Linked DNA regions of Homo sapiens: all the other regions are linked to region 3. The links are contacts of gene promoters, found by promoter capture Hi-C in blood cells and fetal thymus (Javierre and others, 2016). All regions are on one chromosome and are shown on one strand. Each heading gives the region's core, a stretch centred on a gene start or on the middle of the fragment in contact. The rest is flanking DNA. Distances are from core to core; before and after follow the strand shown.

The links. The method cuts DNA at HindIII sites, captures the fragments that hold promoters and counts their contacts. A CHiCAGO score of 5 or more calls a contact.
Region 1: the fragment with the promoter of ALG14 here is called in contact with the fragment with the promoter of RABGGTB in region 3 in 1 of 17 cell types (total CD4 T cells); the score reaches 8.6 in total CD4 T cells.
Region 2: a fragment that was not itself captured here is called in contact with the fragment with the promoter of RABGGTB in region 3 in 1 of 17 cell types (total CD4 T cells); the score reaches 6.5 in total CD4 T cells.

The regions. Positions count from the first base shown.
Region 1 is chr1:95,071,660-95,076,109 of GRCh38, forward strand. ALG14 (ALG14 UDP-N-acetylglucosaminyltransferase subunit) reads right to left here and starts at 1,292. Exons shown (of 4, transcript NM_144988.4): 1 at 1,104-1,292. The coding sequence starts at 1,239. RefSeq lists enhancers at 734-813, 1,054-1,413. The HindIII fragment of the contact is 2,572 bases long and covers 1-1,630 here.
Region 2 is chr1:86,699,404-86,703,803 of GRCh38, forward strand. CLCA4-AS1 (CLCA4 antisense RNA 1) reads right to left here. Exons shown (of 5, transcript NR_135837.1): 1 at 4,204-4,400. Among named protein-coding and RNA genes, the nearest start is that of CLCA4-AS1, 2.9 kb to the right of the region's middle. RefSeq lists an enhancer at 4,377-4,400. The HindIII fragment of the contact is 2,416 bases long and covers 1,943-4,358 here.
Region 3 is chr1:75,783,370-75,787,557 of GRCh38, forward strand. It overlaps RABGGTB (Rab geranylgeranyltransferase subunit beta), which reads left to right and starts at 2,887. Exons shown (of 9, transcript NM_004582.4): 1 at 2,887-2,905; 2 at 4,128-4,188. The coding sequence starts at 2,903. It overlaps SNORD45C (small nucleolar RNA, C/D box 45C), which reads left to right and starts at 3,703; the gene lies at 3,703-3,780. RefSeq lists enhancers at 1,469-1,688, 2,629-2,858 and a silencer at 2,919-2,978. The HindIII fragment of the contact is 7,492 bases long and covers 1-3,617 here.

The DNA.
Region 1 (4,450 bases), core at 42-2,541, about 19 Mb after region 3:
CTTCTTTTCACATCCTCCCAGCCCTCGAAACCCTGGCTGTCCCTCATCTGACTAATTCTGGGTCATCTTTCAAGTTTCAGTTTAGCATCATTTCTTCCAGGAAGCTGTCTGTTTTTTAAGACCTGATAAAGTAGTGCCCTTCCTGAAGACTGCCATAGCAATTTGTACTTCTTACACAATTATTACAAGATTATAGCATTTATCTCATTGTGGCAAATACTCATTTTGATTTATTTTCTGTTAGTTTTTTTGTATTCTCTATTTCATTTACTGCTGTATCTTTGCATCTCTCACAGGACTTAGCACGGAGTCAGCACTCCGTGGCAAGTAATGTTAGTCAGTTTTGTTATTTCCAGAGGTTAGTTTAGTGTTTGGTCTTTCTAACAGCTCAAAACAGATTAAGTGAATAAAGTAATGCGTTATACTTGAACATAAACTTAGTACATTTACTCATACTATACATGTTCTATCTGGATGCAATCTCCTGCCATACCCAAATGTTTACATTGTGTCTGTGTGTGTCTGTCTGTCCCTGTCAAATATGTGTATTTAAAATTGTAAGCACCTACAGAGTTGGTGGATTTAGATTGTATTACCTGACAGGTCAGTGTGTTGCTCACACTCTGCCACCGCGTGTGTATTGTTCTACAGCCCGTAGATCATTGTTTTTATCCTCTTGGACTTTGTATATTTATAAATGTGACAATTCATTTTGCCTCATTTGTCATGTAGCATTCGTGTTTCCTAAACTAAATACGCAATACCTAGATTAATAATGCACAACAGCCATACGGGGAAACTGCATGTTTGCATCAAAAGGCTTCTACGTTCTCTGTTCACTAATTGTTTGAAAAATATACGCTACAGAGAGTCTTAATTATAGACAAGTGTAAATTACTTGTCATAAAAAAAACCTCTGGGCCGCGTCAGCAAACCAGCCCCTACCCTGGCTGGACTGCCCGGTTCCGGCAAGGCAGAGAAACTACAAATCTCTGCATGCAACACTCCAAGAAGTGCTAAGGGTACCAGGGAAGAGCGTCGCGGTGCACTCTGGGGTTTGTAGTGACCAACCCAAGTCCGACAGTCGCCTCCTCGATACTTACCGGACCCAGCCACTACCAAGATACTGAGAGACTCCCGGGGCGTAACGTCCATGGAACGAAGCACTACCCATATTCGCAGGATTAGGAAAACCGCCACAGCTCCTGCGGCCGCAGCTAGAACGAGAACGCACACCATGCAGAGAAACGGCGCATGCGTCCAACTTCCGGGGACCAGCCGCTGTCAAAGTTCACAACTACGGGTGCCGAAGCGACTCAAACGCGGAGGACGCACGTCTTGGTGGGCTGGTCTTTCCTGAGCTGGGAGGAGTGGAGGCGACGGAGAAGCTGAGGTCCCAGTCACAATCCATTTTACCTCATTTATCATGTAGTATTCGTGTTTCCTAAACTAAATACGCAATACCTAGATTAATAATGCACAACAGCCATACAGGGAAACTGCATATTAGCGTTAAAAGGTTTCTACGTTCTGTACGTTCACGTTTGTCAGCGGAACCCCTGCTTCTGCGCGGATTGTGCGCAGCTGCAGCCAAGCGTAAGCTGAAAATTGTAAAGTTAAGCGCTGGGGAAGCTTGATTTACGCCCACGACGAGGTCAGGCAGTCTCTGCGCCCTAAAGGTCCCGAAACTCCCCAGTTAGGAGGTGTTCTGGCTCTGTCAACTTCGTGAATGCCACCTGAAGCTAAGGGAATACATCCTTTCTTTCTTTCTTTTTTTTTTTTTAATGCCAAGAGAAATGTTTCTGTTGCACACAGACATTACTGAAAGTGTTCGCCAGTAAGGACCCTAGGCTTAAACATCGAATTTAGGGCCCTCATCCAAACCCCCTGTCTCCCAACATGTATGTTTTTAACTTTTCTCGAGGTTTTCACAGCTCTCAGTGTGACCAGAGTAGTTGAGGGTGACCACCTAAAGGTAAGCCACACTCCTAAGAGGATTGCAAAGCTCAGTGGCTCTAGGTAGCAGGATAGACAAGGCACAGTCCTACAATTAATATTCAGTTAATTTTATCACAAAGCATTTCCAGTGTGTTTCTCATGTCCTCAGCCAAAATGATGATCTGCCAACACCCCCTTCAATCTCAATTTTGCTTATGTCTAATTAATTAATTGTTAATAAATTAATTATGTCTAATTAATCCACATTACGACAACATAAAATACTAAGATCAGGAGCCCCTTCACCCCAAATATAATTTGCCTTCGGTCCACCATAGACCTACCTGTAGGTTATATTGAACAGGTATACAGATGAGTAAAAAGGTTCAGAAAGGTGCAACTGCTTGCCCAAGTGGAATAGCGTCAGATCTAGAATCAGAAACCAGAAATCTGAGTCCTGCTGGACAGGAGTACTGCATCCTGTATTCCTTTGCTAAATTCAAACTTGCCTGATCACCACACTTACCTGGAGCCTAGAATGTGTTATTAAAGGTGCAGACTCCCAGGGTCCATTAGGAAACACTGAATCAGAATTTCCGGGGATCGGGCACCTGGGATTAGCTTATGTAACCAGCGTGTCCATTCCTATCAGCAAGCAAGTTTGGGAGACTTTGTGAGTAGAGTCCGTGGACCTTACAACACTTTCCAAATTGTCTTCCATCAAATCTTCTTTCTTTTCTTTTCTTTTCTTTTTTTTTTTTTTTGAGACAGAGTCTCACTCTGTCGCTTGGCTGGAGTGCAGTGGCACAATCTTGGCTCACTGCAACCCCCACCTCCCAGGTTCAAGCGATTCTCCTGCCTCAGCCTCCCAAGTAGCTGGGACTACAGGCATGCACCACCATGCCTGGCTATTTTTTTTTTTTTTTTTTTTAGTAGAGACAGAGTTTCACCATGTTGGCCAGGCTGGTCTCGAACTCCTAACCTCAGGTGATCTGCCCGCCTCTACCTCCCAAAGTGCTGGGATTACAGGCATGAGCCACTGCGCCCGGCTCCATCAAATCTTCTTAACTATACATTCTCGCAGTAAGACCTTAAAGTGGATATTAGTTCCCTTTTTACAGACAAAGAAGTAGATTCCATAAAAGTTAAATAATTTGCCTAAGTCTACTTAGCTAGTAAGGGTGGAGAAAGTTCATAGTTGTGGACTTAGAAGTCAGTGTCTCTCAAATTTTAATGGAATCAGAATTCTCTGGGCTTACAAATGCGTAGTTGGAAGTCCAGAGGTAGGGTCTTTGGTGTAGTAAGAAAAACAGCTCAAGGATAATACAAGGAGTATCATTTACTTGTATATGCCCACTCTGCCATTCCTAATAATGTCTTCAACCTGAAACAGTCTTACCTGATACTTAAGACACTAGTGGTCCCAGAATGGGATGTGTGGATGGTTACATCCAACAGGGCAATCTCCATAGCCAAAAAAGAGGTTATCTTGTCGGGTCTTTTTTGCCCCTCCCCCCCAGTCTTGCTCTGTGGCACGGTCTCGGCTCACTGCAACCTCCACCTCTGGGATTCAAGCAATTCGCCTGGCTTAGCCTCCCAAGTAACTGGGACTACAGGTATGCGCCACCACACCCAGCTAATTTTTGTATTTTTAGTAGAGACGGGGTTTCACCATGTTGGTCAGGTTGGTCTTGAACCTGACCTCATGATCCGCCCACCTCAGCCTCCCAAAGTGCTGGGATTATACGGGTGAGCCATGACGCCCGGCCTGCTTTATTTTTTATTTTTTTAAAGGCAAGGAAACTTATTCTAGAACCCCTCACAGCAGACTTTCTTTCACTCCTTTTGGCCATACTTATATCACTTTCCCAGGCATAAAAGGAAAGCGACTTCAAAGCTGGTGGAGGTGGGAGGAGGATGATCTACAACTCACCTGTAATACATGGCTGTTGGATGGAGGGTGGGTACTGAACAAAATAGGCATTCTCTCAGTGAGGAGGAAGCTGCAGGGAGGGTTGTTGGGTAGGCAAACAATAGCATCTAGATTGCTGTGATGATGATGTGTCTGAAACAGCTTTGTAAACTGACACATGCAATGAAAATGTCAGGCATATGATAATTACTTAGCTCCAGGCCCCAAGCTCTATATTAAGGTAGATTTAATACTTGGAGGACACCCTTGCATTTCCCATTACTTCATCCCCTCACTATTATAATTACCTATATCTGTAGGAAATATTAGTTTGACCACACTTGGCATGTAGCTGGAATGAATGGAAGCAATCAAACATTGGGGGCTTGCAAGGAAATGCAGAGAATCAAAGAGGGTGGGGTACCAGACATTGTTTGGACTTATTGGTTGAATTATTCTGAATTAAGGTGATCATAAAACTCTTTAGTTTTCCTGCCAAGAAAGTTGAGAACTGCAGGGAGCAGCTAGGTAGCAGGCAGGGACAGGAACATAGCTGAGAATTCCTGCCAAAAATGTCACCTGGGTAAGCCAAGTCCTGGG
Region 2 (4,400 bases), core at 1,901-4,400, about 11 Mb after region 3:
TCTTGCCTTACAGCAGCATGGCAGACATTGATAGTTGCTTACCCTATAACTATTCTCTTTCTGCCTTGCTAACAGAAACCCCATTTTTGTTCAGGATGACAGTAAGTGCTGTTTAAGAAATAAAGAAAGATTTAAAAATAAAATACTAATTTCTATTATGATTGTATACTTTCAACTGAATTTATATGTATCTATATATAGATATATATAGATATATAGATACATATATATGTATTTTTGATATAGATTTTTTTAAAGATATAAAAAATTGAAATACTTATTTTTCAACAGGGCACATTTCATTTATCAGTCTCTAATGCATTTACGGAGAACTAAACGACCCAGTTCTAGCTAATGAGATGTAAACCAAAGTTTACTACGTGGGGTTTATGAAAAAGCTGTTTTCTTGATTTAAGGAGTAAGAAGTAGACTCAGTTGGCATGTACTTTTGCCTTTACTTTTCATCCTTTTTCTGCCTTAAAAACATATTTAATGCCTAGAATTACAGGAGCCATCTTGAGACATTAGGATGAAAGCTACATGATAAGAATAGAAAAACAAAAACACAGAAGACTGCCTACCTCTGAACTTCTTAGAGGGTGAGAAAATAAATCAGTATTTGGGTAAGTCACTACAGCTAGGTTTCTGTTACTTGAGCTGAACATAAGCAGTCCTTAATCAATACAGACTAGATAACATGAAAACTCTTCTACTACAAATACTTAGAAATGCTGGGTAAAATGCAGCAAAATAAATTAATTAATTAATAATAATGCATACTTGAGCTTACAAAAAAAAAGACAGGGAAATATTCAGGTGGCAAAAATAAAAAAAGAAACTGGACACCAGGGTCTTGAATACAGAATATGACCCTGTCTGGAGAGGAGAAAGGATTGAATGAGGATGGTGCTTGAATGTTTAAATCCATGAGGTGATAAATGGATTTTAAAAATGTGATATATGTATACAATGGAAAACTATTCAGCCTCTAAAAAGAAGGAAATCCTGTCATTTGTGACAACATAGATGAACCTTAAAGACATTATGTTAAGTGAAATAAGCCAGGCCCAGAAAGATGAATATTGCATGATCTCACTTAAATATGGAATCTAAAAAAGTTGAACTCAATAGAAGCAAAGAGTGGAATGGTGGTTAGCAAGGGCTGGGAGAGAGTGAGGGAGCTGGATGACGCTGGTCAAAGGATATACAATTTCAGTTACATAGGAGGAATAAGTTCAAGAGATCTATTGTACAACATAGTGACTATAGTTAACAACATGTTGTATTCTTCAAAATCACTAAGAACAGACTTTAAGTGTTCTCACCATAAAAATAAGTATGTGACGTAATACATATGTTAAGTCACTCAATTTAGCCATTCCAAGATGTATACATATTACAAATCAGGTTGTATACAATACAGTATATACAATTATCATTTGTCAATTTTCATTAATTTTTTTTTTAAGATGGAGTTTCGCTCTTGTTGCCCAAGCTGGAATGCAATGGCGTGATCTCAGCTCACTGCAACCTCCTCGGTTTAAGTGATTCTCCTGCCTCAGCCTCCCGAGTACCTGGGATTACAAGCACCCACCACCACACCCGGCTAATTTTTGTATTTTTAGTAGAGACAGGGTTTCACCATGTTGGCCAGGCTGGTCTTGAACTCCTGACCTCAAGTTATCCACCCACCTCAGCCTCCCAAAGTGCTGGGATTATAGGCATGAGCCACCGCGCCTGGCCTTTATAATTTTTAAAAATACACGGTAACTTGTGATAAGACCTTGGGCCCTTGGTGCAAACAGAAATCAGTTAACTGTGAGCACACCCTGTCCCCCAACTTCATGACCTCACACACACACATAAGTTAAAAACCCATGAAATTCTGTACCCTCAATGAAAGGGTAGACTAGATAGAAGCTTTTCTTCTGGCATAGTAAGAAGCTTTTCTGTCAAGGCACAAGCTCTGAAAGAGAAAAAAACAAGGAAGATCTCTCTCCCTTGAGAATTTGAATCATAGTTTGTACTCCCACAAATCTGGGTTCAAATTTATAATATCTGAATGATCTTAGAACTTCTAAGCCAAGAAAGAAATTCATGTAAAAATTGCTCACTAGCCAGTGATAACCTTAGGGGTCTCTGACAGAAGAAACATTTTTTTCTGTATCACTAAAAATGAGCCATAAAAAAAAAAGCTAAAAGGAATCAATGTACAAAGCAAAAGGAATCAATCCACAAACAAAAAGGTCATCAAATACACAAATAGAAGTATTAGACCCCTAAATGCAAAAGGATTTATCTATATGATATCATTTATGCAGTTTAAAAATATAACATAGTAGTACCATTCATAGATACATATAAATTCAGTGAAAGTACAAAAACATAACAGATATTAATCATACCAATTTAAAAATAGTGGCTAACTCTGGGGAAGGAATAGTGTCAAGAAAAGCCTGAATAATTGATCCAGACTGAAGGAGAATTGAGCAACAAGCTAACTGGATGCAGCACATGATCTTTCTTGGCTGGGACGTTTTTGCTGTAAAGACATTGGAATAATTGGCAAAGTTTGAGTGGGGTTTCTAGGCAAAGGGTACACAGAAGTTTTTGTACTATTCTTGCAACAGTTTTCTTAGTTTGTAAATTGTTTCAAGTTAAAAAATTTGTTTTTAAAAAGAGGATGAAAATGAAAAATAGGAAACAGTTTCAGAGAAGAAATTGCCAGGATAGACCAATTGGTGGTGGGAAATAAGAGGAAATAATCAAAGGGGACTCAGATTTCTGGCTTAGGTGATTTGGTGTGTATGATTCAATTTATCAATGTAGGAAACCCAAGAAAAGAAGAATTTTCAGGAAAAGCAAACTATAACAGACTTGCCACTGGAAATATTGAATCTATGGATAAATAGTTGGAAATTTAGGCTGGGGGTGATGGTGTCACAAAAGAGCTTAGCACTGTAAACATCTTGATTTGATTACTTTTTTCACTTACTAAATCATTTGGGAATTCACTATGTTGCCTGTGTAAACCATAAAATATATAAAAATAAATAGGAAACGGACACTGCCCTTAAGGGACTGATATCTGGTAAGAGAAGTAGAATCAGTCTGTAGGCAAAGGGTAGAGACTGATGGAGCAAGTTCTAGAGGGTGACAAATTAGTTCTCAACCTTGGTCACACATTAAGAACACCTAGAGGAACTCCTAAAACATCCCAATGCCCAGTCCACACTCTGGGACTGGATCCAGGCATCAGTGGTTGCTTAAACTCTCCAGGTGATGCTGATGTGCAGCCAAGATTAAGGGAGCAGTGGCTCTACTCAGAACACCTGAGACACCTATTCCTTTGAAACATTTGGCAATGATGCAGGAAAGAGTGTGGAGAGAACAGGAGGTGGAAATAAGGAAATTTGGTTGAAGAGGCTTCTGCCAAACAGAGTGATGATTTATATTTTCTCTGTAAAGAAAGCGAATCAGCTGGGTGCGGTGGCTCACACCTGTCATCCCAGCACTTTGGGAGGCTGTGGCAGGCGGATCACTTGAGGCCAGGAGTTCGAGACCAGCCTGGCCCACATGGTGAAACTCTGTCTCTACTAAAGATATAAAAAATTAGCCGGGCGTGGTGATGCATGCTTGTAATCCCAGCTACTTGGAAGGCTGAGGCAGGAGAATCCTTGAACCCAGGAGGCAGAGGTTGCAGTGAGCTGAGATCACACCATTGCACTCCAGCCTGGGTGACACAGCAAAACTCTGTCTCAAAAAAAAAAGTGTCAAAGGCTAAGAATAAGGATATATGAAAATAAGGTAAGTCTTTTATGGAGAATGGGGAAACAGGATTACAGCTACAGAGGGTGCAAAAGAAAGAAGTAACATTGTTGTTTTCCCAAGACTGGGAAGATTGAAACACTTGAGGATGAGGATTCAGGGACACCACTGTGTCCACCATTAAAGAATTTCCCCTTTAATGGTGGACACGGTGGTGTGATCCTTTTGTAGAGACGAGCATAGGTTATGGCAAATATACCTACTTTAAAAACAGTGCTCTGGGAAGAGAGTAAGTGCTTTTCCACATAAAGATCTAAAATAGACAATAAATGAGAAATAGGGTTTTTTATTATATATTCATTTTTCCATATTTCTGGAAAATGAAACAGACATGGAGTATTTCAAAGCTGGGAGAGATCATTATATTGGAGTTACCTTAGAAAGAGGGGGCTGTTTCTGCCACCACAACAAAGAATGAAACAACACAAATATTTACGTTTTCTTCTTGTCCTCATAATGCTTTTACTGCACTCGTCTTTCAACCTTTAACATCTACTGCATCTGTGACTGTTGTTTCAGTAAAACACGGAAGCTTGAATGTAAGCTCATTTCATTGCCTGCTGCACAACCAC
Region 3 (4,188 bases), core at 1,637-4,136:
GTGGCACATATACACCATGGAATACTATGCAGCCATAAGAAAGGATGAGTTCATGTCCTTTGTAGGGACATGGATGAAGCTGGAAACCATCATTCTGAGCAAACTATCGCAAGGACAAAAAACCAAACACCCCATGTTCTCACTCATAGGTGGGAATTGAACAATGAGAACACAGGGACACACGAAGGGGAACATCACACACCGGGGACGGTTGTGGGGTCGGGGGAAGGGGGATGGATAGCATTAGGTGATATACCTAATGCTAAATGACGAGTTAATGGGTGCAGCACACCAACATGGCACATGTATACATATGTAACAAACCTGCACGTTGTGCACATGTACCGTAAAACTTAAATAATAATAAAAAAAATCAAAATAAAATAGAAGTTGAAGAAAAGGAAGAAAAACAAAGTCAGGAAACAACAGAAGCTGGATAAGATGTGGAGAAATAGGAACACTTTTACATTGTTGGTGGGAGTGTAAAGTAGTTCAACCACTGTGGAAGACAGTGTTGTGATTCCTCAAGGATCTAGAACTAGAAATAGCATTTGACCCAGTGATCCCATTACGGGGTATATACCCAAAGATTATAAACACACATGCACACGTATGTTTATTGGGCACTATTCACAATAGCAAAGACTTGGATCCAACTCAAATGTCATCAACGATAGAGTGGATTAAGAAAATGTGGCACATATACACCATGGAATACTATGCAACCATAAAAAAGGATGAGTTCATGTCCTTTGTGGGGTCATGGATGAAGCTGGAAACCATTATTCTGAGCAAAGTATCACAAGGATAGAAAACCAAACACCGCATATTCTCACTCATAGGTGGGAATTGAAGAATGAGAATACCTGGACACAGGGCAGGGAACATCACACACAGGGGCCTGTCATGGTGTTGGGGGAGGGGGGAAGGATAGCATTAGGAGAAATACCTAATTTAAATGATGAGTTAATGGGTGCAGCAATCCAACCTGGCACATGTATATCCATGTAACAAACCTACACGTTGTACACATGTACCCTAGAACTTACAGTATAATTTTTTTAAAAAAAGTAACTTCCAATATTTTTACTATTAGCACTCTCCGAAGAAGTGTTTGTGGTGGCGGTGGTGGTGGTGGGGAGGGTGGCCTGTGTGTGTGGCGAGGAGAGGGGGCGGGTACAGGGCTGGACCTTGAGATAGATAAGGCAAACAGGAAGGAAATGTGAACATTTCATTAATATTCATTTAAAAAATATTCATTGAACACTTACTACGTGTAAGCAGGCACTCTACTAATTAACAGCCATTTCAGATTTTCAGAGTGCAAAGGGCCTCAAGAACAAATGATTTATTTTTTTGAGACATGGTCTCGTTCTGTCTCACACCCTGCAGTGCAGTGGCATTATCACCGCTCACTGTAGCCTCCACCCCCTGCCCCACAGCTCAAGTAATTCTCTCACCTCAGCTTCCCCAGTAGCTGAAACCACAGGCTTGGGCAACCACGTCTGGCTCATATTTTTATTATTTGTAGAGACGGGGGTCTTGCAACATTGCCCAGGCTGGTCTGGATCTCCTGGAACCGCCTTTGCAAAATTATAACTGAGGAAATTATGGCAGTGAAAGAAATCAGACCTAACGGATTCCATCTTGCTTCTAACTTTTGTTTTTGAGACTAGTCTCGCTCTGTCGCCCAGGGTGGAGTGCAGTGGCGTGATCTCTGCTCACTGCAAGCTCCGCCTCCCGGGTTTAAGCCATTCTCCTGCCTCAACCTCAGGAGTAGATGGGACTACAGGCGCCCACCCCCACGCCCGGCTAATTTTTTGTATTTGTAGTAGAGACGGGGTTTTAGCCAGGATGGTCTCGATCCCCTGACCTCGTGATCCGCCCGCCTTGGCCTCCCAAAGTGCTGGGATTACAGGCGTGAGCCACCGGCCGCTTCTAACTTTTAAGCTGTCCTTCTTCATTCCTGAGCCTAGGCTGAACCAATTTAGGGAGGAATTCAGTTTATGGTTTGACTCTGAAACAAAATTGATAATATCCCTTTCCCAAAAAGACCGCTTTTTTGCCTGGGGACCAGTCTGCCTTTGCAGAACCAACAGATTAGCTACAAGATTAGAAATTACAGTTTAGAGGTCATGCAGCCTCTGGCTCCAAGTTTCTGAACCTCCCCAAATTGCTCCTGGGGATAACATCACTATTGTAAAACCTAAGATAAGTTCTTGAGATATTTTGCAGACCCTGCTCTCCATGGATCAGTTGAAACCACCCAGATTGGTAATTTGGCTCAACCAGTTCTGCCATCCTACCCAGGAACAGAAAACAGCAAGAAAAACTCACGTCTACCCACTATGAGTCCATCTCCAACCTGACCCATCAGCACTCCCTACTTCCCAAGCCCCTAATCGCCGAATTATCTTTAAAAACTCTGAATACTGCTTGGGGAGACTCCATTGCAAGTCCCCTGTCTTGATAAATGGGCTATCGGTCAGCAGCAGGCAAAGTGAACCACAATATTGGGTGGTTACACTCCTAGGATCAAGCAATCCTGCTGTCCGGCTTCCCAAAGTGCTGGGATTACAGGCGTAAGCCACCGCGTCCAGCTAGAACAAATGATTTCTTAAAAGCAACTCAGATATTTAAATATTATTTAAAACTGTTTCTAGACAAATCGGAGTGACTATGGGACAAGCATATGGTCGCAGGACTTTGGACGCAGGCAGTGAGGACACCTATGAGCGATCAGTGGGGTCCTACGGCAGCCGTGGAACTGCTCTGCCTTGCAGGCGAAAGTGTGGTCAGCTATATCGGAGCGCGATGGGGGCCTGAGAGGCGCATCTGCGCAGGCGCCCGGCTCCTAAGTCTACCCAGGAACTGACCCTGCTCTCTCCTTTCCCTGTTAGACATGGTAAGTGTGAGTTTAGCGCTGCTGTCCGGATGGGTTGGTAGCAGACAGGGTGGAGTAGGGTTAAGCACACTGGTCACCTTAGGATTGGTTTCCTGGTGCTGGAGAATGGTTAGGACACAGGCCTTGGAAGGTTTTTTGAGTGTGAAATATTACTCAGCGTTTTCTGCAGACCTCGCGGGCAATGCCGCTTCTAATTTTATCCAGGCCTTCTTCTGTAGGGAGGGCCTGTTAAGAGTTGAGCAGCCCGATTTCTGAACCCCTCTAAAAAGCTGTGGCTGATTGGTGGCTTTTTTTTTTCTTGGAGAGGGGGTGTCAAAGATTTCTTTAAAATCGTTAGTGATGTGGTCTCGCTTTAAGATTTTTAATGGGATCAGAAGAAAATTCGGTACTTAATCACTTCCGGTAATCTTCATGACCTGTTATAGTGACTGCAGTGTACTCTCAATGAGGAAGATATAGATACGAAAAGAACTAGAGCCGCATCACATGGGGACTTCTGCAAATACAGAGACTCGGATTAAAGGTGGAGAAGATGGAGCTAAAGGAACTGCTTATTTAATACATTTGAACAACTTTTGGGGTACTTAGAAGGTGCTTTGAAACCTGCATTTGATTAAGCAAGAATTCGCTTGCAAGTTAAGGGTTAGATTTTTTTATTTTTTAAAAATATGCTTTCTGCCACATGTAAACCGTAAGTTGTCCTGAAATGATAAGCTTTGATATTCTATGGTGTTTATTTTTTACTTATCTTTTTGAATGAAAAGTGAACAACAAGAAATGCTGGTGGTAATTTTTTGGGTCAATGATGAGTTGGCATGTATTCTGAATCTAAAGTTGATTATTACTACTTTAGCTCTAGAATTACTCTGAGACCTGAAAATTACCTGAATCGTGACTAAGACGAAGCCTGAATGATTTAAGTTCTTTTTTGTTGGATACAATTTGTTGTTGTTGTTGTTGTTTTGGTTTTGTTTTTGAGTCGGTCTCCGGTCGCCCAGGATGGAGTGCAGTGACACAACCTCAGTTCACTGCAGCCTTAATTTCCCTGGCTCAAGCGATCTTCTACCTCAGCCTCCCTAGTTAGTTACAATTTTTAAATGGAACGTTTTCCTATTACAAGATGAAATCAAGTGAAAATTGAGATGTATGTTGAATCTATGCTGTGGGGCAGAAGAACGTTGTAGAGGTAAACATTGATGAGATTACCACTTTATTTTGAAAGGGCACTCCACAGAAGGATGTTATTATCAAGTCAGATGCACCGGACACTTTGTTATTGGAGA